3 separate regions of the Homo sapiens genome follow, and regions 1 and 2 are each linked to region 3. The links are contacts of gene promoters, found by promoter capture Hi-C in blood cells and fetal thymus (Javierre and others, 2016). All regions are on one chromosome and are shown on one strand. The core of a region is centred on a gene start or on the middle of the fragment in contact, and the rest is flanking DNA. Distances in the headings are between cores, read along the strand shown.

Region 1 (3,561 bases), core at 207-2,706, 960 kb after region 3:
AACACAGTATTTTCAAAGGCATTGTACTAGGAACATCTAGCTTAATCAGGGCCTGATTAAAACCTTTGGTGCTCCCTGCCATCAATATGTAATTGAAAATGATATCAATATCAAAGTAAAAGGAAAGATTAAGTTCAACAGAGTGCTTTCTAAAAAATTTGATGATTATTTCAATGTTTTTTTGGGGGAGGATCAATTATCAAATTTTTTCTAAAGTTGAAGGTGCCCCATTATACACCATGGAATTCTATACAACCATACAAAAGAACATCATGTTCTTTGTAGGAACATAGATGGAGCTGGGGGCCATTATCTTTAGCAAACTAACACAGGAACAGAAAACTAAATACCACATGTTCTCACTTATAAGTGAGAGCTAATGATGAGAACACGTGGACACAAAGAGGAGAACAACAGACACTGGGGCTTACTTGAATGTGGAGGGTGGGAGGAGGGAGAGAATAAAAAAAAACTATTAGGTACTAGGCTTAGTACCTGGGTGATGAAATAATCTGTTTAGCAAACCCCCATGCCACACGTTTACCTATATAACAAGCCTGCACATGTACCACTGAACCTAAAATAAAAGTTTTTTTTTTTTTTTTTAAGAAAAAAACTAAGTTGCTGGTACCCTAAACATGAGCTTAGTTTCCCTCTTGATCATCCAGTCTTGGGGAGTGGAGGATAGTGGGAAGATGAGGCCAGATCAAGGGTCTGACAGATCAAGAAGAGCTCCTTATTCTCATGTTAAGGGGTCTGGCCTTTATTTCATTGGTGGTTGATGGCAGTTACTACAGATTTTAGGCCAGAAAATTGAGTGAGGATTATAAGGGCTTGGTTGAGTGGACCATCTGTTGCGTTGGTCCAGGCAAGAGATTATGGCCTTCAACTGAGGCTGTGGTGGTAGATTTGAGAGATGTTTACAGGGTAGAATTCCCCAAGCCACTATCTGGTGGGTCAGACACAGCTAGGATTGAGTCTGAACTGGGTTGATACCTAGTTGTACGGCCTTGAACAAGTCACTGACCCTCCACTGGCCATAGTTCTCATCTACAAGTGGCTGTGTGTCCTAAATGATAATGTAAAGGGTTTAGTGTGGTGTCTAGCATATGCTCTCCGTAGACATAAACCATGTCTAGTGGAAGGCATAGAGATGGCTCCCAAATCTAGAGCACATAGTTTAAAATGCAGTACTCTGGATTGTGGATTCACAGGTTCTCTCTTGATAGGATCATTGAAACCCCTCCTGGTAGGACACTGGCTGCACTTCTCAATGATTTCCCACAGACTTCAACTAACTGGCACTAAGTATAGAACCATCATATATGCATCACATAAGACTGCCTGGCAGAGCAACTGAAATCCAGGCCATGGTCTGCTTATTAAGTCATGTGCCCTGGTGTGAGCTACATCTGCAGAGAAGTTATCTTTTTTTTTTTTTTTGTAAGTTGCACAAAGTTACTGTTCGGATGAGACACAGCTGTGTCTAGCTATCTTATGTCCTTCCTTCATTCTCTTTCCCTCTCTGAAACACTCAATAAAAGTACTGTGCCCTGTGTGCTCTATGTCATTGGAGGCAACTTGTCAAGAGCCTAAAATGACTGAATGAGCTTCATAGGCATCAGTGGAGATTCCTGACTGCAAAATGGCTGAGAGAGAAGGAAAGAGGAAGGAAAAATGCTTATTAAGCTCCTACCATGTCCCATGAATAATATTTTCATGGATTTTCTATTACCAAATTCGATAGGAAATAAGAAAAGGGGGTGGGCATTTTACTAAATAGACAGGCAGAACCCCAGTACACCTGAGGTCATCTGAGGAAGGTGGACACTGGACACCCAAAGGCAAAATGTTCAGGAGGTCTACGGGGGGACTTGCTGGGAACGTATAACCTAGATAAGCAGAAAGGGAAAAACCTGGGAACCCCTGTTCTGTGGCCACAGAAAGGGGATAACCTTGACTTTATATAGTGACCAAGACAATGAGGCATCTGGTCCCTATATAGTAACAGTTTGTTTCCTGCAGACTTGAGTGACAGATAGCAAAAAGGCTAATGTCTACTAATGAAAGACATGCATCTTGCTGTCACAAGAGTGAACAGACACAGGTTGTACTTGAAGCCCCTGGAATAGACATTCTCTAGCTTGACCACAAAAGTCAAACGCTGTTGGATTGGGTACCTGCATGCAAACATGTGTCTTTAGAATATCAGAAATAATAATTAAGAAAAGATAGATGTGTGGAATGAGCTCCTTCATTATTTGATTCTGAGATTCAGAGAGGTATTTGAGGAAAGCACATAATGGTGCTATCATCACCACTACCTGAGCAGGTAGCACCCTAGAGCCCTCACTATGCAACAGGTGCTGTGATGATGTCCAGCAACAACCCTTGAAGTAGCTGCTCTTATTCTCTCTTTACAAATAAGAGGTTAAGTAACTTCCCCAGGTCATCCAGCAAGGCAGTGATGGAGCCTGAATTCAAACCCAGGCTTGACTCCAGAGCCCGTGCTAGACAAAACTGTACCACCCTCCCCATCTCATAAGGGTTGTGCCAAGTGGGCTGATGTAAATGTGACCTAAAATTAGATTAAAGCAAAATGGAATGAGGCCTTTTGAACGTAAAGGGCAAATTCTGATCTTGTTTTCAGTCCAAAAACAACTCATTTATTCAATGTCTTTTGGAATAGATGTTCCACAAAAATGCATTTTCTAGCTAACTGATGTTTCCCAAAATTCATTTTACATATATTTCTCTGCCTTAAAATGATTATACTGAACATAATGGAACTACTTGTTGTGCTTCAGGTCTATCACATCTCAACAATAACCAGAGCAGCCAATCAATATAGTGCCATCTATGAGGACCATTTTTTGTTTTTTTTGGTATCTTCCCTCACTCTTGTGAGTGGAAGCTGTCTCTTTTTCTTGTCATTATTCTGTCCTACTCTGGTTGACTTGACATCCCTCTCCTTGTTCTACCAACTTGTTGCTTTTCATTTACACTGGGACATTTTTGTCAGTGCTTTCTTCTTGATGGTCCAGAGAGAAAGTCACCTCCAAACAAATGAGCTCTTACCACATTAATGTGACTCCCACATTATGCCTCAATTTAATATATATTTTTTTCTCCTGGAAGAAATCATAAGAAACTTAACAATGGTTACCCTTGGGGAAATGGGCTGGCAGAAAGGTGGGAGGAGAAAATGGAGATTCTCCCCTACTCCCATTTTTCATGTAGTACCTTTAATTAATTGGAATCATCTAATGTCACATATTTTAGTTTTACCTTAAGAATATCAACAGTGGTTACCTGGACAGGAAGTTTTTTTTTAACCTTTTTATATTTAAAATAATCTGATGTTATAGATATCTGTGCGTATGTATATGCATATTTACATCCATAACACAAATGTATATATACAAGTATAAATTTTAAAGATGCCTATGGAAATTATTTTAAAAAATCTAAAATTCTTTCCTAATGGTCCATTTTATGTTAATACCTAAATCTAGTCATCTCTCAGTATCCATGGGAGATTGGTTTCAGGACCGCTGTGGA
Region 2 (3,864 bases), core at 1,172-3,671, 640 kb before region 3:
CATTGTACATATTTATAACTTTTGTAGTCCACTGTTTGTTGATTTTTTTCTTTTTTTCAGTCTTTTTTCTCTTTGCTTTTCAGTTTTGGGCATTTCTATTGTCATATTCTCAAGCTCAGGGATTCCTTCCTCAGCCATGTCCAATCTACTAATGAATCCATTAAAGTGATTCTTCATTTCTGTTAGTGTTTTTTAATCTCAGGCATTTCTTTTTTTATTCTTTCTTAGAATTTCCATCTCCCTGCTTAGATTACCCATCTGTTCTTGCATGTTGGCTGTTGTTTTTTTTTTCAGTAGAGCCTGTGGCATATTCATCATATTTATTTTAAATTGCTAGTCTGATAATTACAACATCCCTGCCATATCTGACTCTGGTTCTTCTGGGAGGTTTTTTGAGACAAAGTCTCCCTCTGTCACCTCCCTCTGTCACTGCTGGAGTGCAGTGGTGTGATAACAGCTCACTGCAACCTCCGCCTCCTGGGTTCCAGCATTTCTCGTGCCTCAGCCTCCCAAGTAGCTGGGACTATAGGCGTGTGCCACCAAGCCTGGCCAATTTTTGTATTTTTAGTAAAGACAGGGTTTTGCCATGTTGGCCAGGCTGGTCTTGAACTCCTGGCCTTAAGCTCCTTAGCCTCCCTAAGTGCTGGGATTACAGCCATGAGCCACCGCACCTGGCCTAACTCTGGTTCTGATGCCTGCTCTGTTTTCAAACTCAATTTTTTACCTTTTAGTATACCTTGTAATTTTTTGTTGGAAGTTGGACTCGATGTACTAAGTAAAGGAACAGCAGTAAAAAGGCATTTAATTGAAATGTGGTGGGAGGGAATGTGTTCTATTGTCTTTAGGGATCTTTAGGGAGCCTGTGTTTATGGACTGTGAACTTTACAAGTGCTTCTCAGCCCCCAACCCCACTCAGGCGGGACAGAATGGGGCTAGAGTTGGGTATTTCCCTTCCCCCAGGTCAGTTAAGCTTTGATAAAACCCCAATAGGTAAAAATAGTTTCTCTGGAGGAGAGGCCTGCTAAAGACCAGAATGCTTTGTTTCCTTTCCCTCTTCCTCTGGCAGAAGCATGGGAGGATTTTTTTCTCCAGTCTTCATTGTGAGAACCTGGTAGAACTCCTAGAGGTAAAACCTACAAAAGTGCGGGTGCCTCCATCTAAGACTGGGTCCCTCTGGAGTTGTTTTTTGTTTGTTTGTTTGTTTTGTTTTGTTTTTTCTGTTTGTTTTGAGACGGAGTCTCACTCTCATGCCAGGCTGGAGTGCAGTGGTGCGATCTCGGCTCACTGCAATCTCCACCTCCCGGGTTCAAGCAATTCTCCTGTCTCGGCCTCCCAAGTAGCTGGGACTACAGGCACCCGCCCCCTCGCCCAGCTAATTTTTTGTATTTTTAGTAGAGATGGGGTTTCACCGTGTTAGCCAGGATGGTCTCGATCTCTTGACCTCGTGATCTGCCTGCCTCGGCCTCCCAAAGTGCTGGGATTACAGGCGTGAGCCACCACGCCTGGCCCAGTTTTAATTTTTTATTTTGCATATAAGTTCAAAGCCTTCCAAAGTGTTTGTTTATGATTTATTTTCTTGTTAAAATCTGTTCTTGTTCATTGCCTGTTTATAAGTGTTGTCTTGATGTTTATTTTTTGCATGTACATTTTAATTTGTCAATCTGTTTCTTCTTTTATTTCAACTGTTCCAAATTTTAGAAAGTTGTTTCAAGTATCTGATACCTAATTCTAATTTATGCTAGCTTTTCTAACATTTGATATTCAACTTCTGATTTTGAGTTTATTTTTGTGTATGGCCTAAGATGCTATTATTCCTGTTGTTATTCATCCATCCCAGTATCATATTCAATCAACCTCCCCCACCACCACCACTATTTTGAGTGTGGTTGCATTAAAAAGCATGTGGGCTTTTGGTCAGAATAGATTTGGGTGAAATCCTGGCTATGGGTAGCAGTCTCCTTCTACTTTAAGAGTAACTTCTTCACAAAAGGAGCTAGATGATCCTCTGCTTTGCCTCTAATGCTGAGGAATGTTGCACCTACAACTATCATGGAAGACGCTGAAACCTCCATTACCCAATCCTGTACTCCCAGCACCCTCAGGGAGCCCCACCTCTGGAGGACTCAGACACTCATGCCAGGTAAAGCTGTAGGACAGAGGCCAGGCATGGTGGCTCACAGCTGTAATCCCAGCACTTTAGGTGAGAGGATTGCTTCAGGCCTGGAGTCGAGACTAGCCTGAGTCACATAGCAAGACCCCATCTCTACAAAAAATTAAAAAATTAGTCACACATGGTAGCATGCACCTGTAGTCCCAGCTACTTGAGAGGCTGTTGGGGAGGGATCACTTGAGCCTAGGAGTTTGAGGCTGCTGTGAGCTATGTATGATCATGCCACTGTACTCCAGCCTGGGCAACAGAGCAAGACCCTGTCTCAAAAAAAAAAAAAAAGAAAAGAAAAGAAAAAGAAGCTATAGGACATAGGGGAGCTAGTCATATGTCTGTCCTACTGAGACTCTAGATGGCACAAGGCAATGGCACTTGTGTTAGAACCAGAATGCAGCTATGGCTGACTTGGAACCGTCTGTCAGAGGAAAAAAGGCATGCAAATAGTTACTCATTTGACCAAAGCAGAAGAAAACCAAAATGTCCAATGCCTCCAGGAAGAAAGGCAAAGATAGAGATACTAATCATTTCTCTACACATCTGCCATGCCATGGGTGAAGAAGACAGCCAAGTTGGTGAACAGATCTGGAAAGGTTACCATCATTCTTGATTGAGCTCTGCCCTCCAACCGAACACCCCTGAGCAGCCACGGCATGCCGGCTCACCGTGCTTCCCACCACGCATGGATCAAGAGCACCTCCACAGGTTCTCAGAAGCTACGGCACCAGGACCCATTTGCCTGCTTTTTGCTGTTCCTCTTAAGACAGGGTCCTGCAATCACAGCTCACCGCAACCCCTGCCTCCCAGGCTCAAGTGATGCTCCCATCTCATCCTTCCGAGTAGCTAGGACTACAAGTGCATGCCACCATGCCCAGCTAATTAAAAAAATTTTTTTTTGGTAGAGACAGTGTTTCTCCATGTTGCCCAGGCTAGTTTCAACCTCCTGGGCTCAAGCAATCCTCCTGCCTCACCCTCCCAAAGTGTTGGGATTACAGGCATTAGTTACTGTGCCTGGCCTCTCTTGGTAATTTTGACTATGCCACTCCTAAATATATGCCTCTTGGCCTCTGCATGAGAGAAGGTGGCCTTTGATGTGTTATTTCCAGCACTGTGGTTTACTTTAGCTTTTTAAATTGTTTCTTTCATAATTTCTACTATCATCCAGCGTCAGTGTTTCTAGCCTATCCTATTAAGGGTTATTCTTTTGTTTTGTTTTGTTTTGTTTTTTGAGATGGAGTTTCGCTCTTATTGCCCAGGCTGGAGTGCAATGGCACGATCTCGGCTCACTGCAATCTCTGCCTCCGAGGTTCAAGCTATTCTCTTGCTTCAGCCTCCCAAGTAGCTGGGATTACAGTGCCTGCCACCACGCCTGGCTAATTTTTTGTGCTTTTAGTAGAGTTGGGGTTTCACCATGTTGGCTAGGCTGGTCTTGAACTCCTGACCTCAGGTGATCTACCCACCTTGGCCTCCCAAAGTGCTGGGATTACAGGCATGAGCCACCATGCCCAGCCCCAAGGGTTATTCTTTTGATTTGGGGAACAGGGTTCCTTGGCCCTATTACCCACCACATTGTTCTCCACTCTTTGCATCCTGAGCATCTCCATCTGCATTTTTCACTCCTGAGTACTGGCAGAGATGAGCACAAGGGTAATGGGACTTGATGTAGTGACATTGTATCCACCACATGCTTAGAGAGGTTA
Region 3 (4,004 bases), core at 715-3,214:
CTATTACACTGGTTTTCCTGTTTCTATGCTTGCTCTCTATAGGCTACTCTGAACACAGCAGCCAGAATCATTTTTTAAAAAACTTAAGTTGGATCATAGCACTCCTATGTTCAAAAATCCCCCAATGGTTCCCTATATCACTCACAACAAGAGCCTAAGTCCTTAAAGTGATCCACAACTTCTTACGCTACTCTCATCCTGCTCTGCTCTGGTCACACTGGCCTCCTTTTTGTTCCTTGATAAAATCAGGCATGTTCCTGTCTTAGGTCCCCTTCACTGAACGATCCTTTGCTCGACTCTCTTACCTCATACCCTCATATGTACATGGCTCACTCCCTCACCTCCTTCAAATCTTTACCTATTAAGGCCTTTCTCAGTAAGGCCTGCCATGATCACCCTATGGAAAACTGCAACTTCCTCCCAGACCAGCACTCCTGATCTTCCTTACCGTTTGCTTTCTGTTGCAGAGCACATTTTAATACAAGAATGAATCATTATATTTCTAAATTATAGTCTAAATTATAGCCCGCTTCTCTCATGAGGCTCTGTGCCTCATCCCCACTTTCCCTATATTCATTTTGGACTTCATCCTTGAGAGTGTTAAGGTCCTTACCTAAGATTCCATTCCAAGTACTGAACAAAACTTTGGGTAGGAGTGGGCAGTAATAACATTTTTTTTTTCTATTGTCAACATCCTTGGGTGAAAGATAATAGGGCAACTAAAGACTAAAATGAAATTGTAAAGCTGCACCTAGGAATTATATCTCAAACAAGATAATGCAGAATTCTGTGTATAAGCCAGCACGAAATACCATACAATTGTTCCCTTCAAAGTAAGTCTAGCAGCTCTAAACAATTTTAATTACATATTAAATAGAAGAGAAATATAAAAAATTGTCCACTAAAATAATCTATATACTTTCTATTTAATAAATAATAATTTTCACTAAAGCTAGATTTATCTCTAAAGCTAAAATAAATTACGTAATCTGAACTTTAAACGTTTTAATTTACTATTCGGCTGTTTATCAATGGTGTTTAAAACCTGCCTAAAAAAATACCGCACTTTACCTAGCACAATGAAACATTCTCCTGCACTCATCACTGACAAGCTGATCTAAGTCCTTGCCACTGACTTACAATACCCTTCCCCCGTTTTAAAATTATATCCCTTACTTTGTCATAAATCACTTTTATAATGAGAGAGCAGCTAGGACACGTTGCCACGTCTTCCCCATTCTCCAAATCTTCCTACAACGAAATCAAATACCATGTGGTCAGGATAGCTTCTCTTCGCCATCTCCTCCCCCAAACCTATCCCACCCCTAGATGCAAGTCTCTTGGTGGCTTGCCTTCCCCCCAAGGTGGGTGAGAACCCCAGGGCCTTCAGCGAGAAATGCCGACATCATTTTCCCCTAGAAGCGTCACTTAGGGGAAACACCTAGGAAGGTCAGGCGAGCTTCGGTCGCCCCAAAAGCCCTGGGAAACAAAAAACGAGTCCCCTCCTCGACAGAAATATCCCAGGTTGGGACCCTAAGGCAGGGATCGGGCAGAGAGACAGAGGCTCTCCGCCACCCTCTCCCTGACCTAATCTAAGGCCAGAACTGCGTGCCTACCGAGAGAGCTCAGGGCATTAGTTGGGGTGGGGGGACGCGGGAGGAGGAAGATTCAGCAACGGGAAAGAGGGCGTGGGTGACACAGCGCAGCAAAGGCTACCCAATGATGGAAGGAACGGGCGGAACCAAACTGCGCTTGCTTGGGTGAACCGCCGGGCGGGACCCTGAAGTTACCTTGGTGATGGAGAAGTTATCTCCACATGGGCAGGGATAGAAATACGTCTCCGAGTCCTCGTCATATTGGAAGTCCTCGATTTCCACCTCGTCATGAAACACTGCCATGGTCAGCGGGGGTGGCCGAAGGGGTAACGCCCCAGCAGTCCGAGGCCAGCTCCGAGGGTTTAACTTCGCCGGAACCGGCCTGGGCTCGGCATCATCAGGTCGCGCCGGGCAAGGACTAGCCCTTCCGGCGCATAGGCAATGACGCAACTCCGCCCTGCGCGGCCAAATGGATAACCGGTAGCGGTCACCATGGAGATGGCTGAACTAGGGGCGGAGACACTGGGAAGACTGAAAGCTTGCTCAGCGGGGTCGCGCACCGCTCCTCCTATTGGGCGGCAGCGACCAATAGAATGTGGGGCTCGCCCGCGCTGCTACGTCACGTCTGGGACCGCGGAGTATTCCAGGCGCCTGCAACTAAACGTGGCCGGGTCTGCAAGCTAGGTGCCAGCGGGGAAAGTTTCCCTGCTTCTTATCGTCTGCTTTAACGCCTTAAATAGCCCGCTGAAGGCTGCAGCAGGTGCTAGGTAGCAGCCTCCCGGCCCTCGGGAAAGGCGGGGTGGGGAGGCGAGAGCAGCTTAGCCTCCTCGACCTCCCTTCCTGGTGACGGACGAACAGTTCCCGTAGAATTTCGCTTCACCGAGTGACCTTGAGCCCAGGGCGACGGTCAGCTTGTTAATTCCTGGCTGCAGGTACATTCCGCTTCTTCCTCACCCCAGACGCCTTAAAATACCCTAAATTGTGTTGCTGAAAGGACCAAGCCCTGGAAGGCAGGGATTGAGTTCTAGTCTTCTGTTTGCCAGGCTTATAACATTATTAACGACGATGATTTTTAGTAATAGTAATAACATCACCTTTTATTATTGGGAAGTTATGTGCCAGCTATTGCACTAAGTGGAATTGTCAACTCTAGGAGTTTACATGTTATTCCATTTTATTAATCTTTAAACTGAGGTACAGAGAGTTGGGCATCTTGACTAAAATCATACACCTGGGAAATAATGAAGAGCTTGTCTGTCTCCAAAGCCCAGGAACAAATTACTTATGTGAGTACCAGTTTTTTCGTTGTGAAAGAAATGGTGTCAGTAGGCAGGTTTATCAGTGTGAGGCCTATGTATGCCTTGAAGCGAAATGCAGATAAAAGGCATTTTTGTCTTGAAAGCAGTGCTAGTGCCTGTTTTGGTAAAACCGATTACATTGGGTCTTACTTAATTACTAGGCATTTTAATATCTTAGTAGAGAAGAAATGCATTGTAGTGAAAAAGCACTTTCGAGAGAAGATCTGGGATCGGAATCTTGAGTTGTTGATTACCTCTGGCAACTGGATATTTACATTCTTTGGGCCTTATTTCCTCTTCTAAGAAAGGATTGGAGTAGAGATGATATAAGATCCTTTTTAGATGTAATGTTCCACTTTTGCACGGAAATTATGAGCTTTACTTGGTTCAGCAATGATATATAACATTTAGTTTACATTTACGTAACACATATACATAATATATCCCTGTGCACTTTTGAAGAAAACATTACAATGACTACTAAACTTTACATTTATTCCTAAAAGGGCGGATCACGAGGTCAGGAATACGAGACCAGCCTGACCAACATGATGAAGCCCCGTCTTTACTAAAAAATACACAAATTAGCCAGGTGTGGTGGTGTGCCTGTAATCCCAGCCACTCAGGAGGCTGAGGCAGGAGAATCTCTTGAACCTGGAAGGCAGAGATTGCAGTGAGCTGAGATCACGCCACTGCACTCCAGCCTGGGCGACAGAGCTAGACGCTGTCTCAAAAAAAAAAAAAAAAAAAAAAAAGAAGTAGGTCATAATTGTATAATGCAAACTATATTTGATGAGTGCTGTTGTATATCAGGCCAGAAGGAGTTGTTTATTGGCAATACCAAACCTCCACCTCTCTAGGTTGTTTGACAAGGAAGAGAAGGGGTCAATGTATTAGGATTGATTTTAGTAACACTGTTGCTTGCCAGGTACTTTGGTAGACATTTTATTTATTCCTCTCAGTAATCCAGTGAGGTGGCGTGGGTAATGTTAAAATGGCAAGAGGAGACTTGCTGAAGATTAGAAAGCAGGAAGGAGTCACACCTGAGCCCAGTTCCGCTGATTTCCGGTCAAATACTCTGTGTATACTACTTGTTTACCACTAAGGTGTC

The links. Contacts are between HindIII fragments. The CHiCAGO score rates a contact against its expected background, and 5 or more counts as called.
Region 1: a contact is called between a fragment that was not itself captured here and the fragment with the promoter of DPH3 in region 3, in 1 of 17 cell types (fetal thymus). The highest score is 5.5, in fetal thymus.
Region 2: a fragment that was not itself captured here is called in contact with the fragment with the promoter of DPH3 in region 3 in 4 of 17 cell types (megakaryocytes, naive CD4 T cells, endothelial precursors and 1 more); the score reaches 6.8 in megakaryocytes.

What each region holds. Positions count from the first base shown.
Region 1 is chr3:17,227,264-17,230,824 of GRCh38, forward strand. The region is part of intron 18 of TBC1D5 (TBC1 domain family member 5); the gene reads right to left. Among named protein-coding and RNA genes, the nearest start is that of PLCL2-AS1, 170 kb to the left of the region's middle. The HindIII fragment of the contact is 4,917 bases long and covers 1-3,561 here.
Region 2 is chr3:15,624,347-15,628,210 of GRCh38, forward strand. All of the region lies in intron 1 of BTD (biotinidase), which reads left to right. Among named protein-coding and RNA genes, the nearest start is that of BTD, 25 kb to the left of the region's middle. The HindIII fragment of the contact is 2,907 bases long and covers 969-3,864 here.
Region 3 is chr3:16,262,979-16,266,982 of GRCh38, forward strand. DPH3 (diphthamide biosynthesis 3) reads right to left here and starts at 1,965. Exons shown (of 3, transcript NM_206831.3): 1 at 1,791-1,965; 2 at 1,177-1,251. The coding sequence starts at 1,898. OXNAD1 (oxidoreductase NAD binding domain containing 1) reads left to right here and starts at 2,234. Exons shown (of 9, transcript NM_138381.5): 1 at 2,234-2,527. RefSeq lists an enhancer at 1,797-2,106. The HindIII fragment of the contact is 11,235 bases long and covers 1-2,131 here.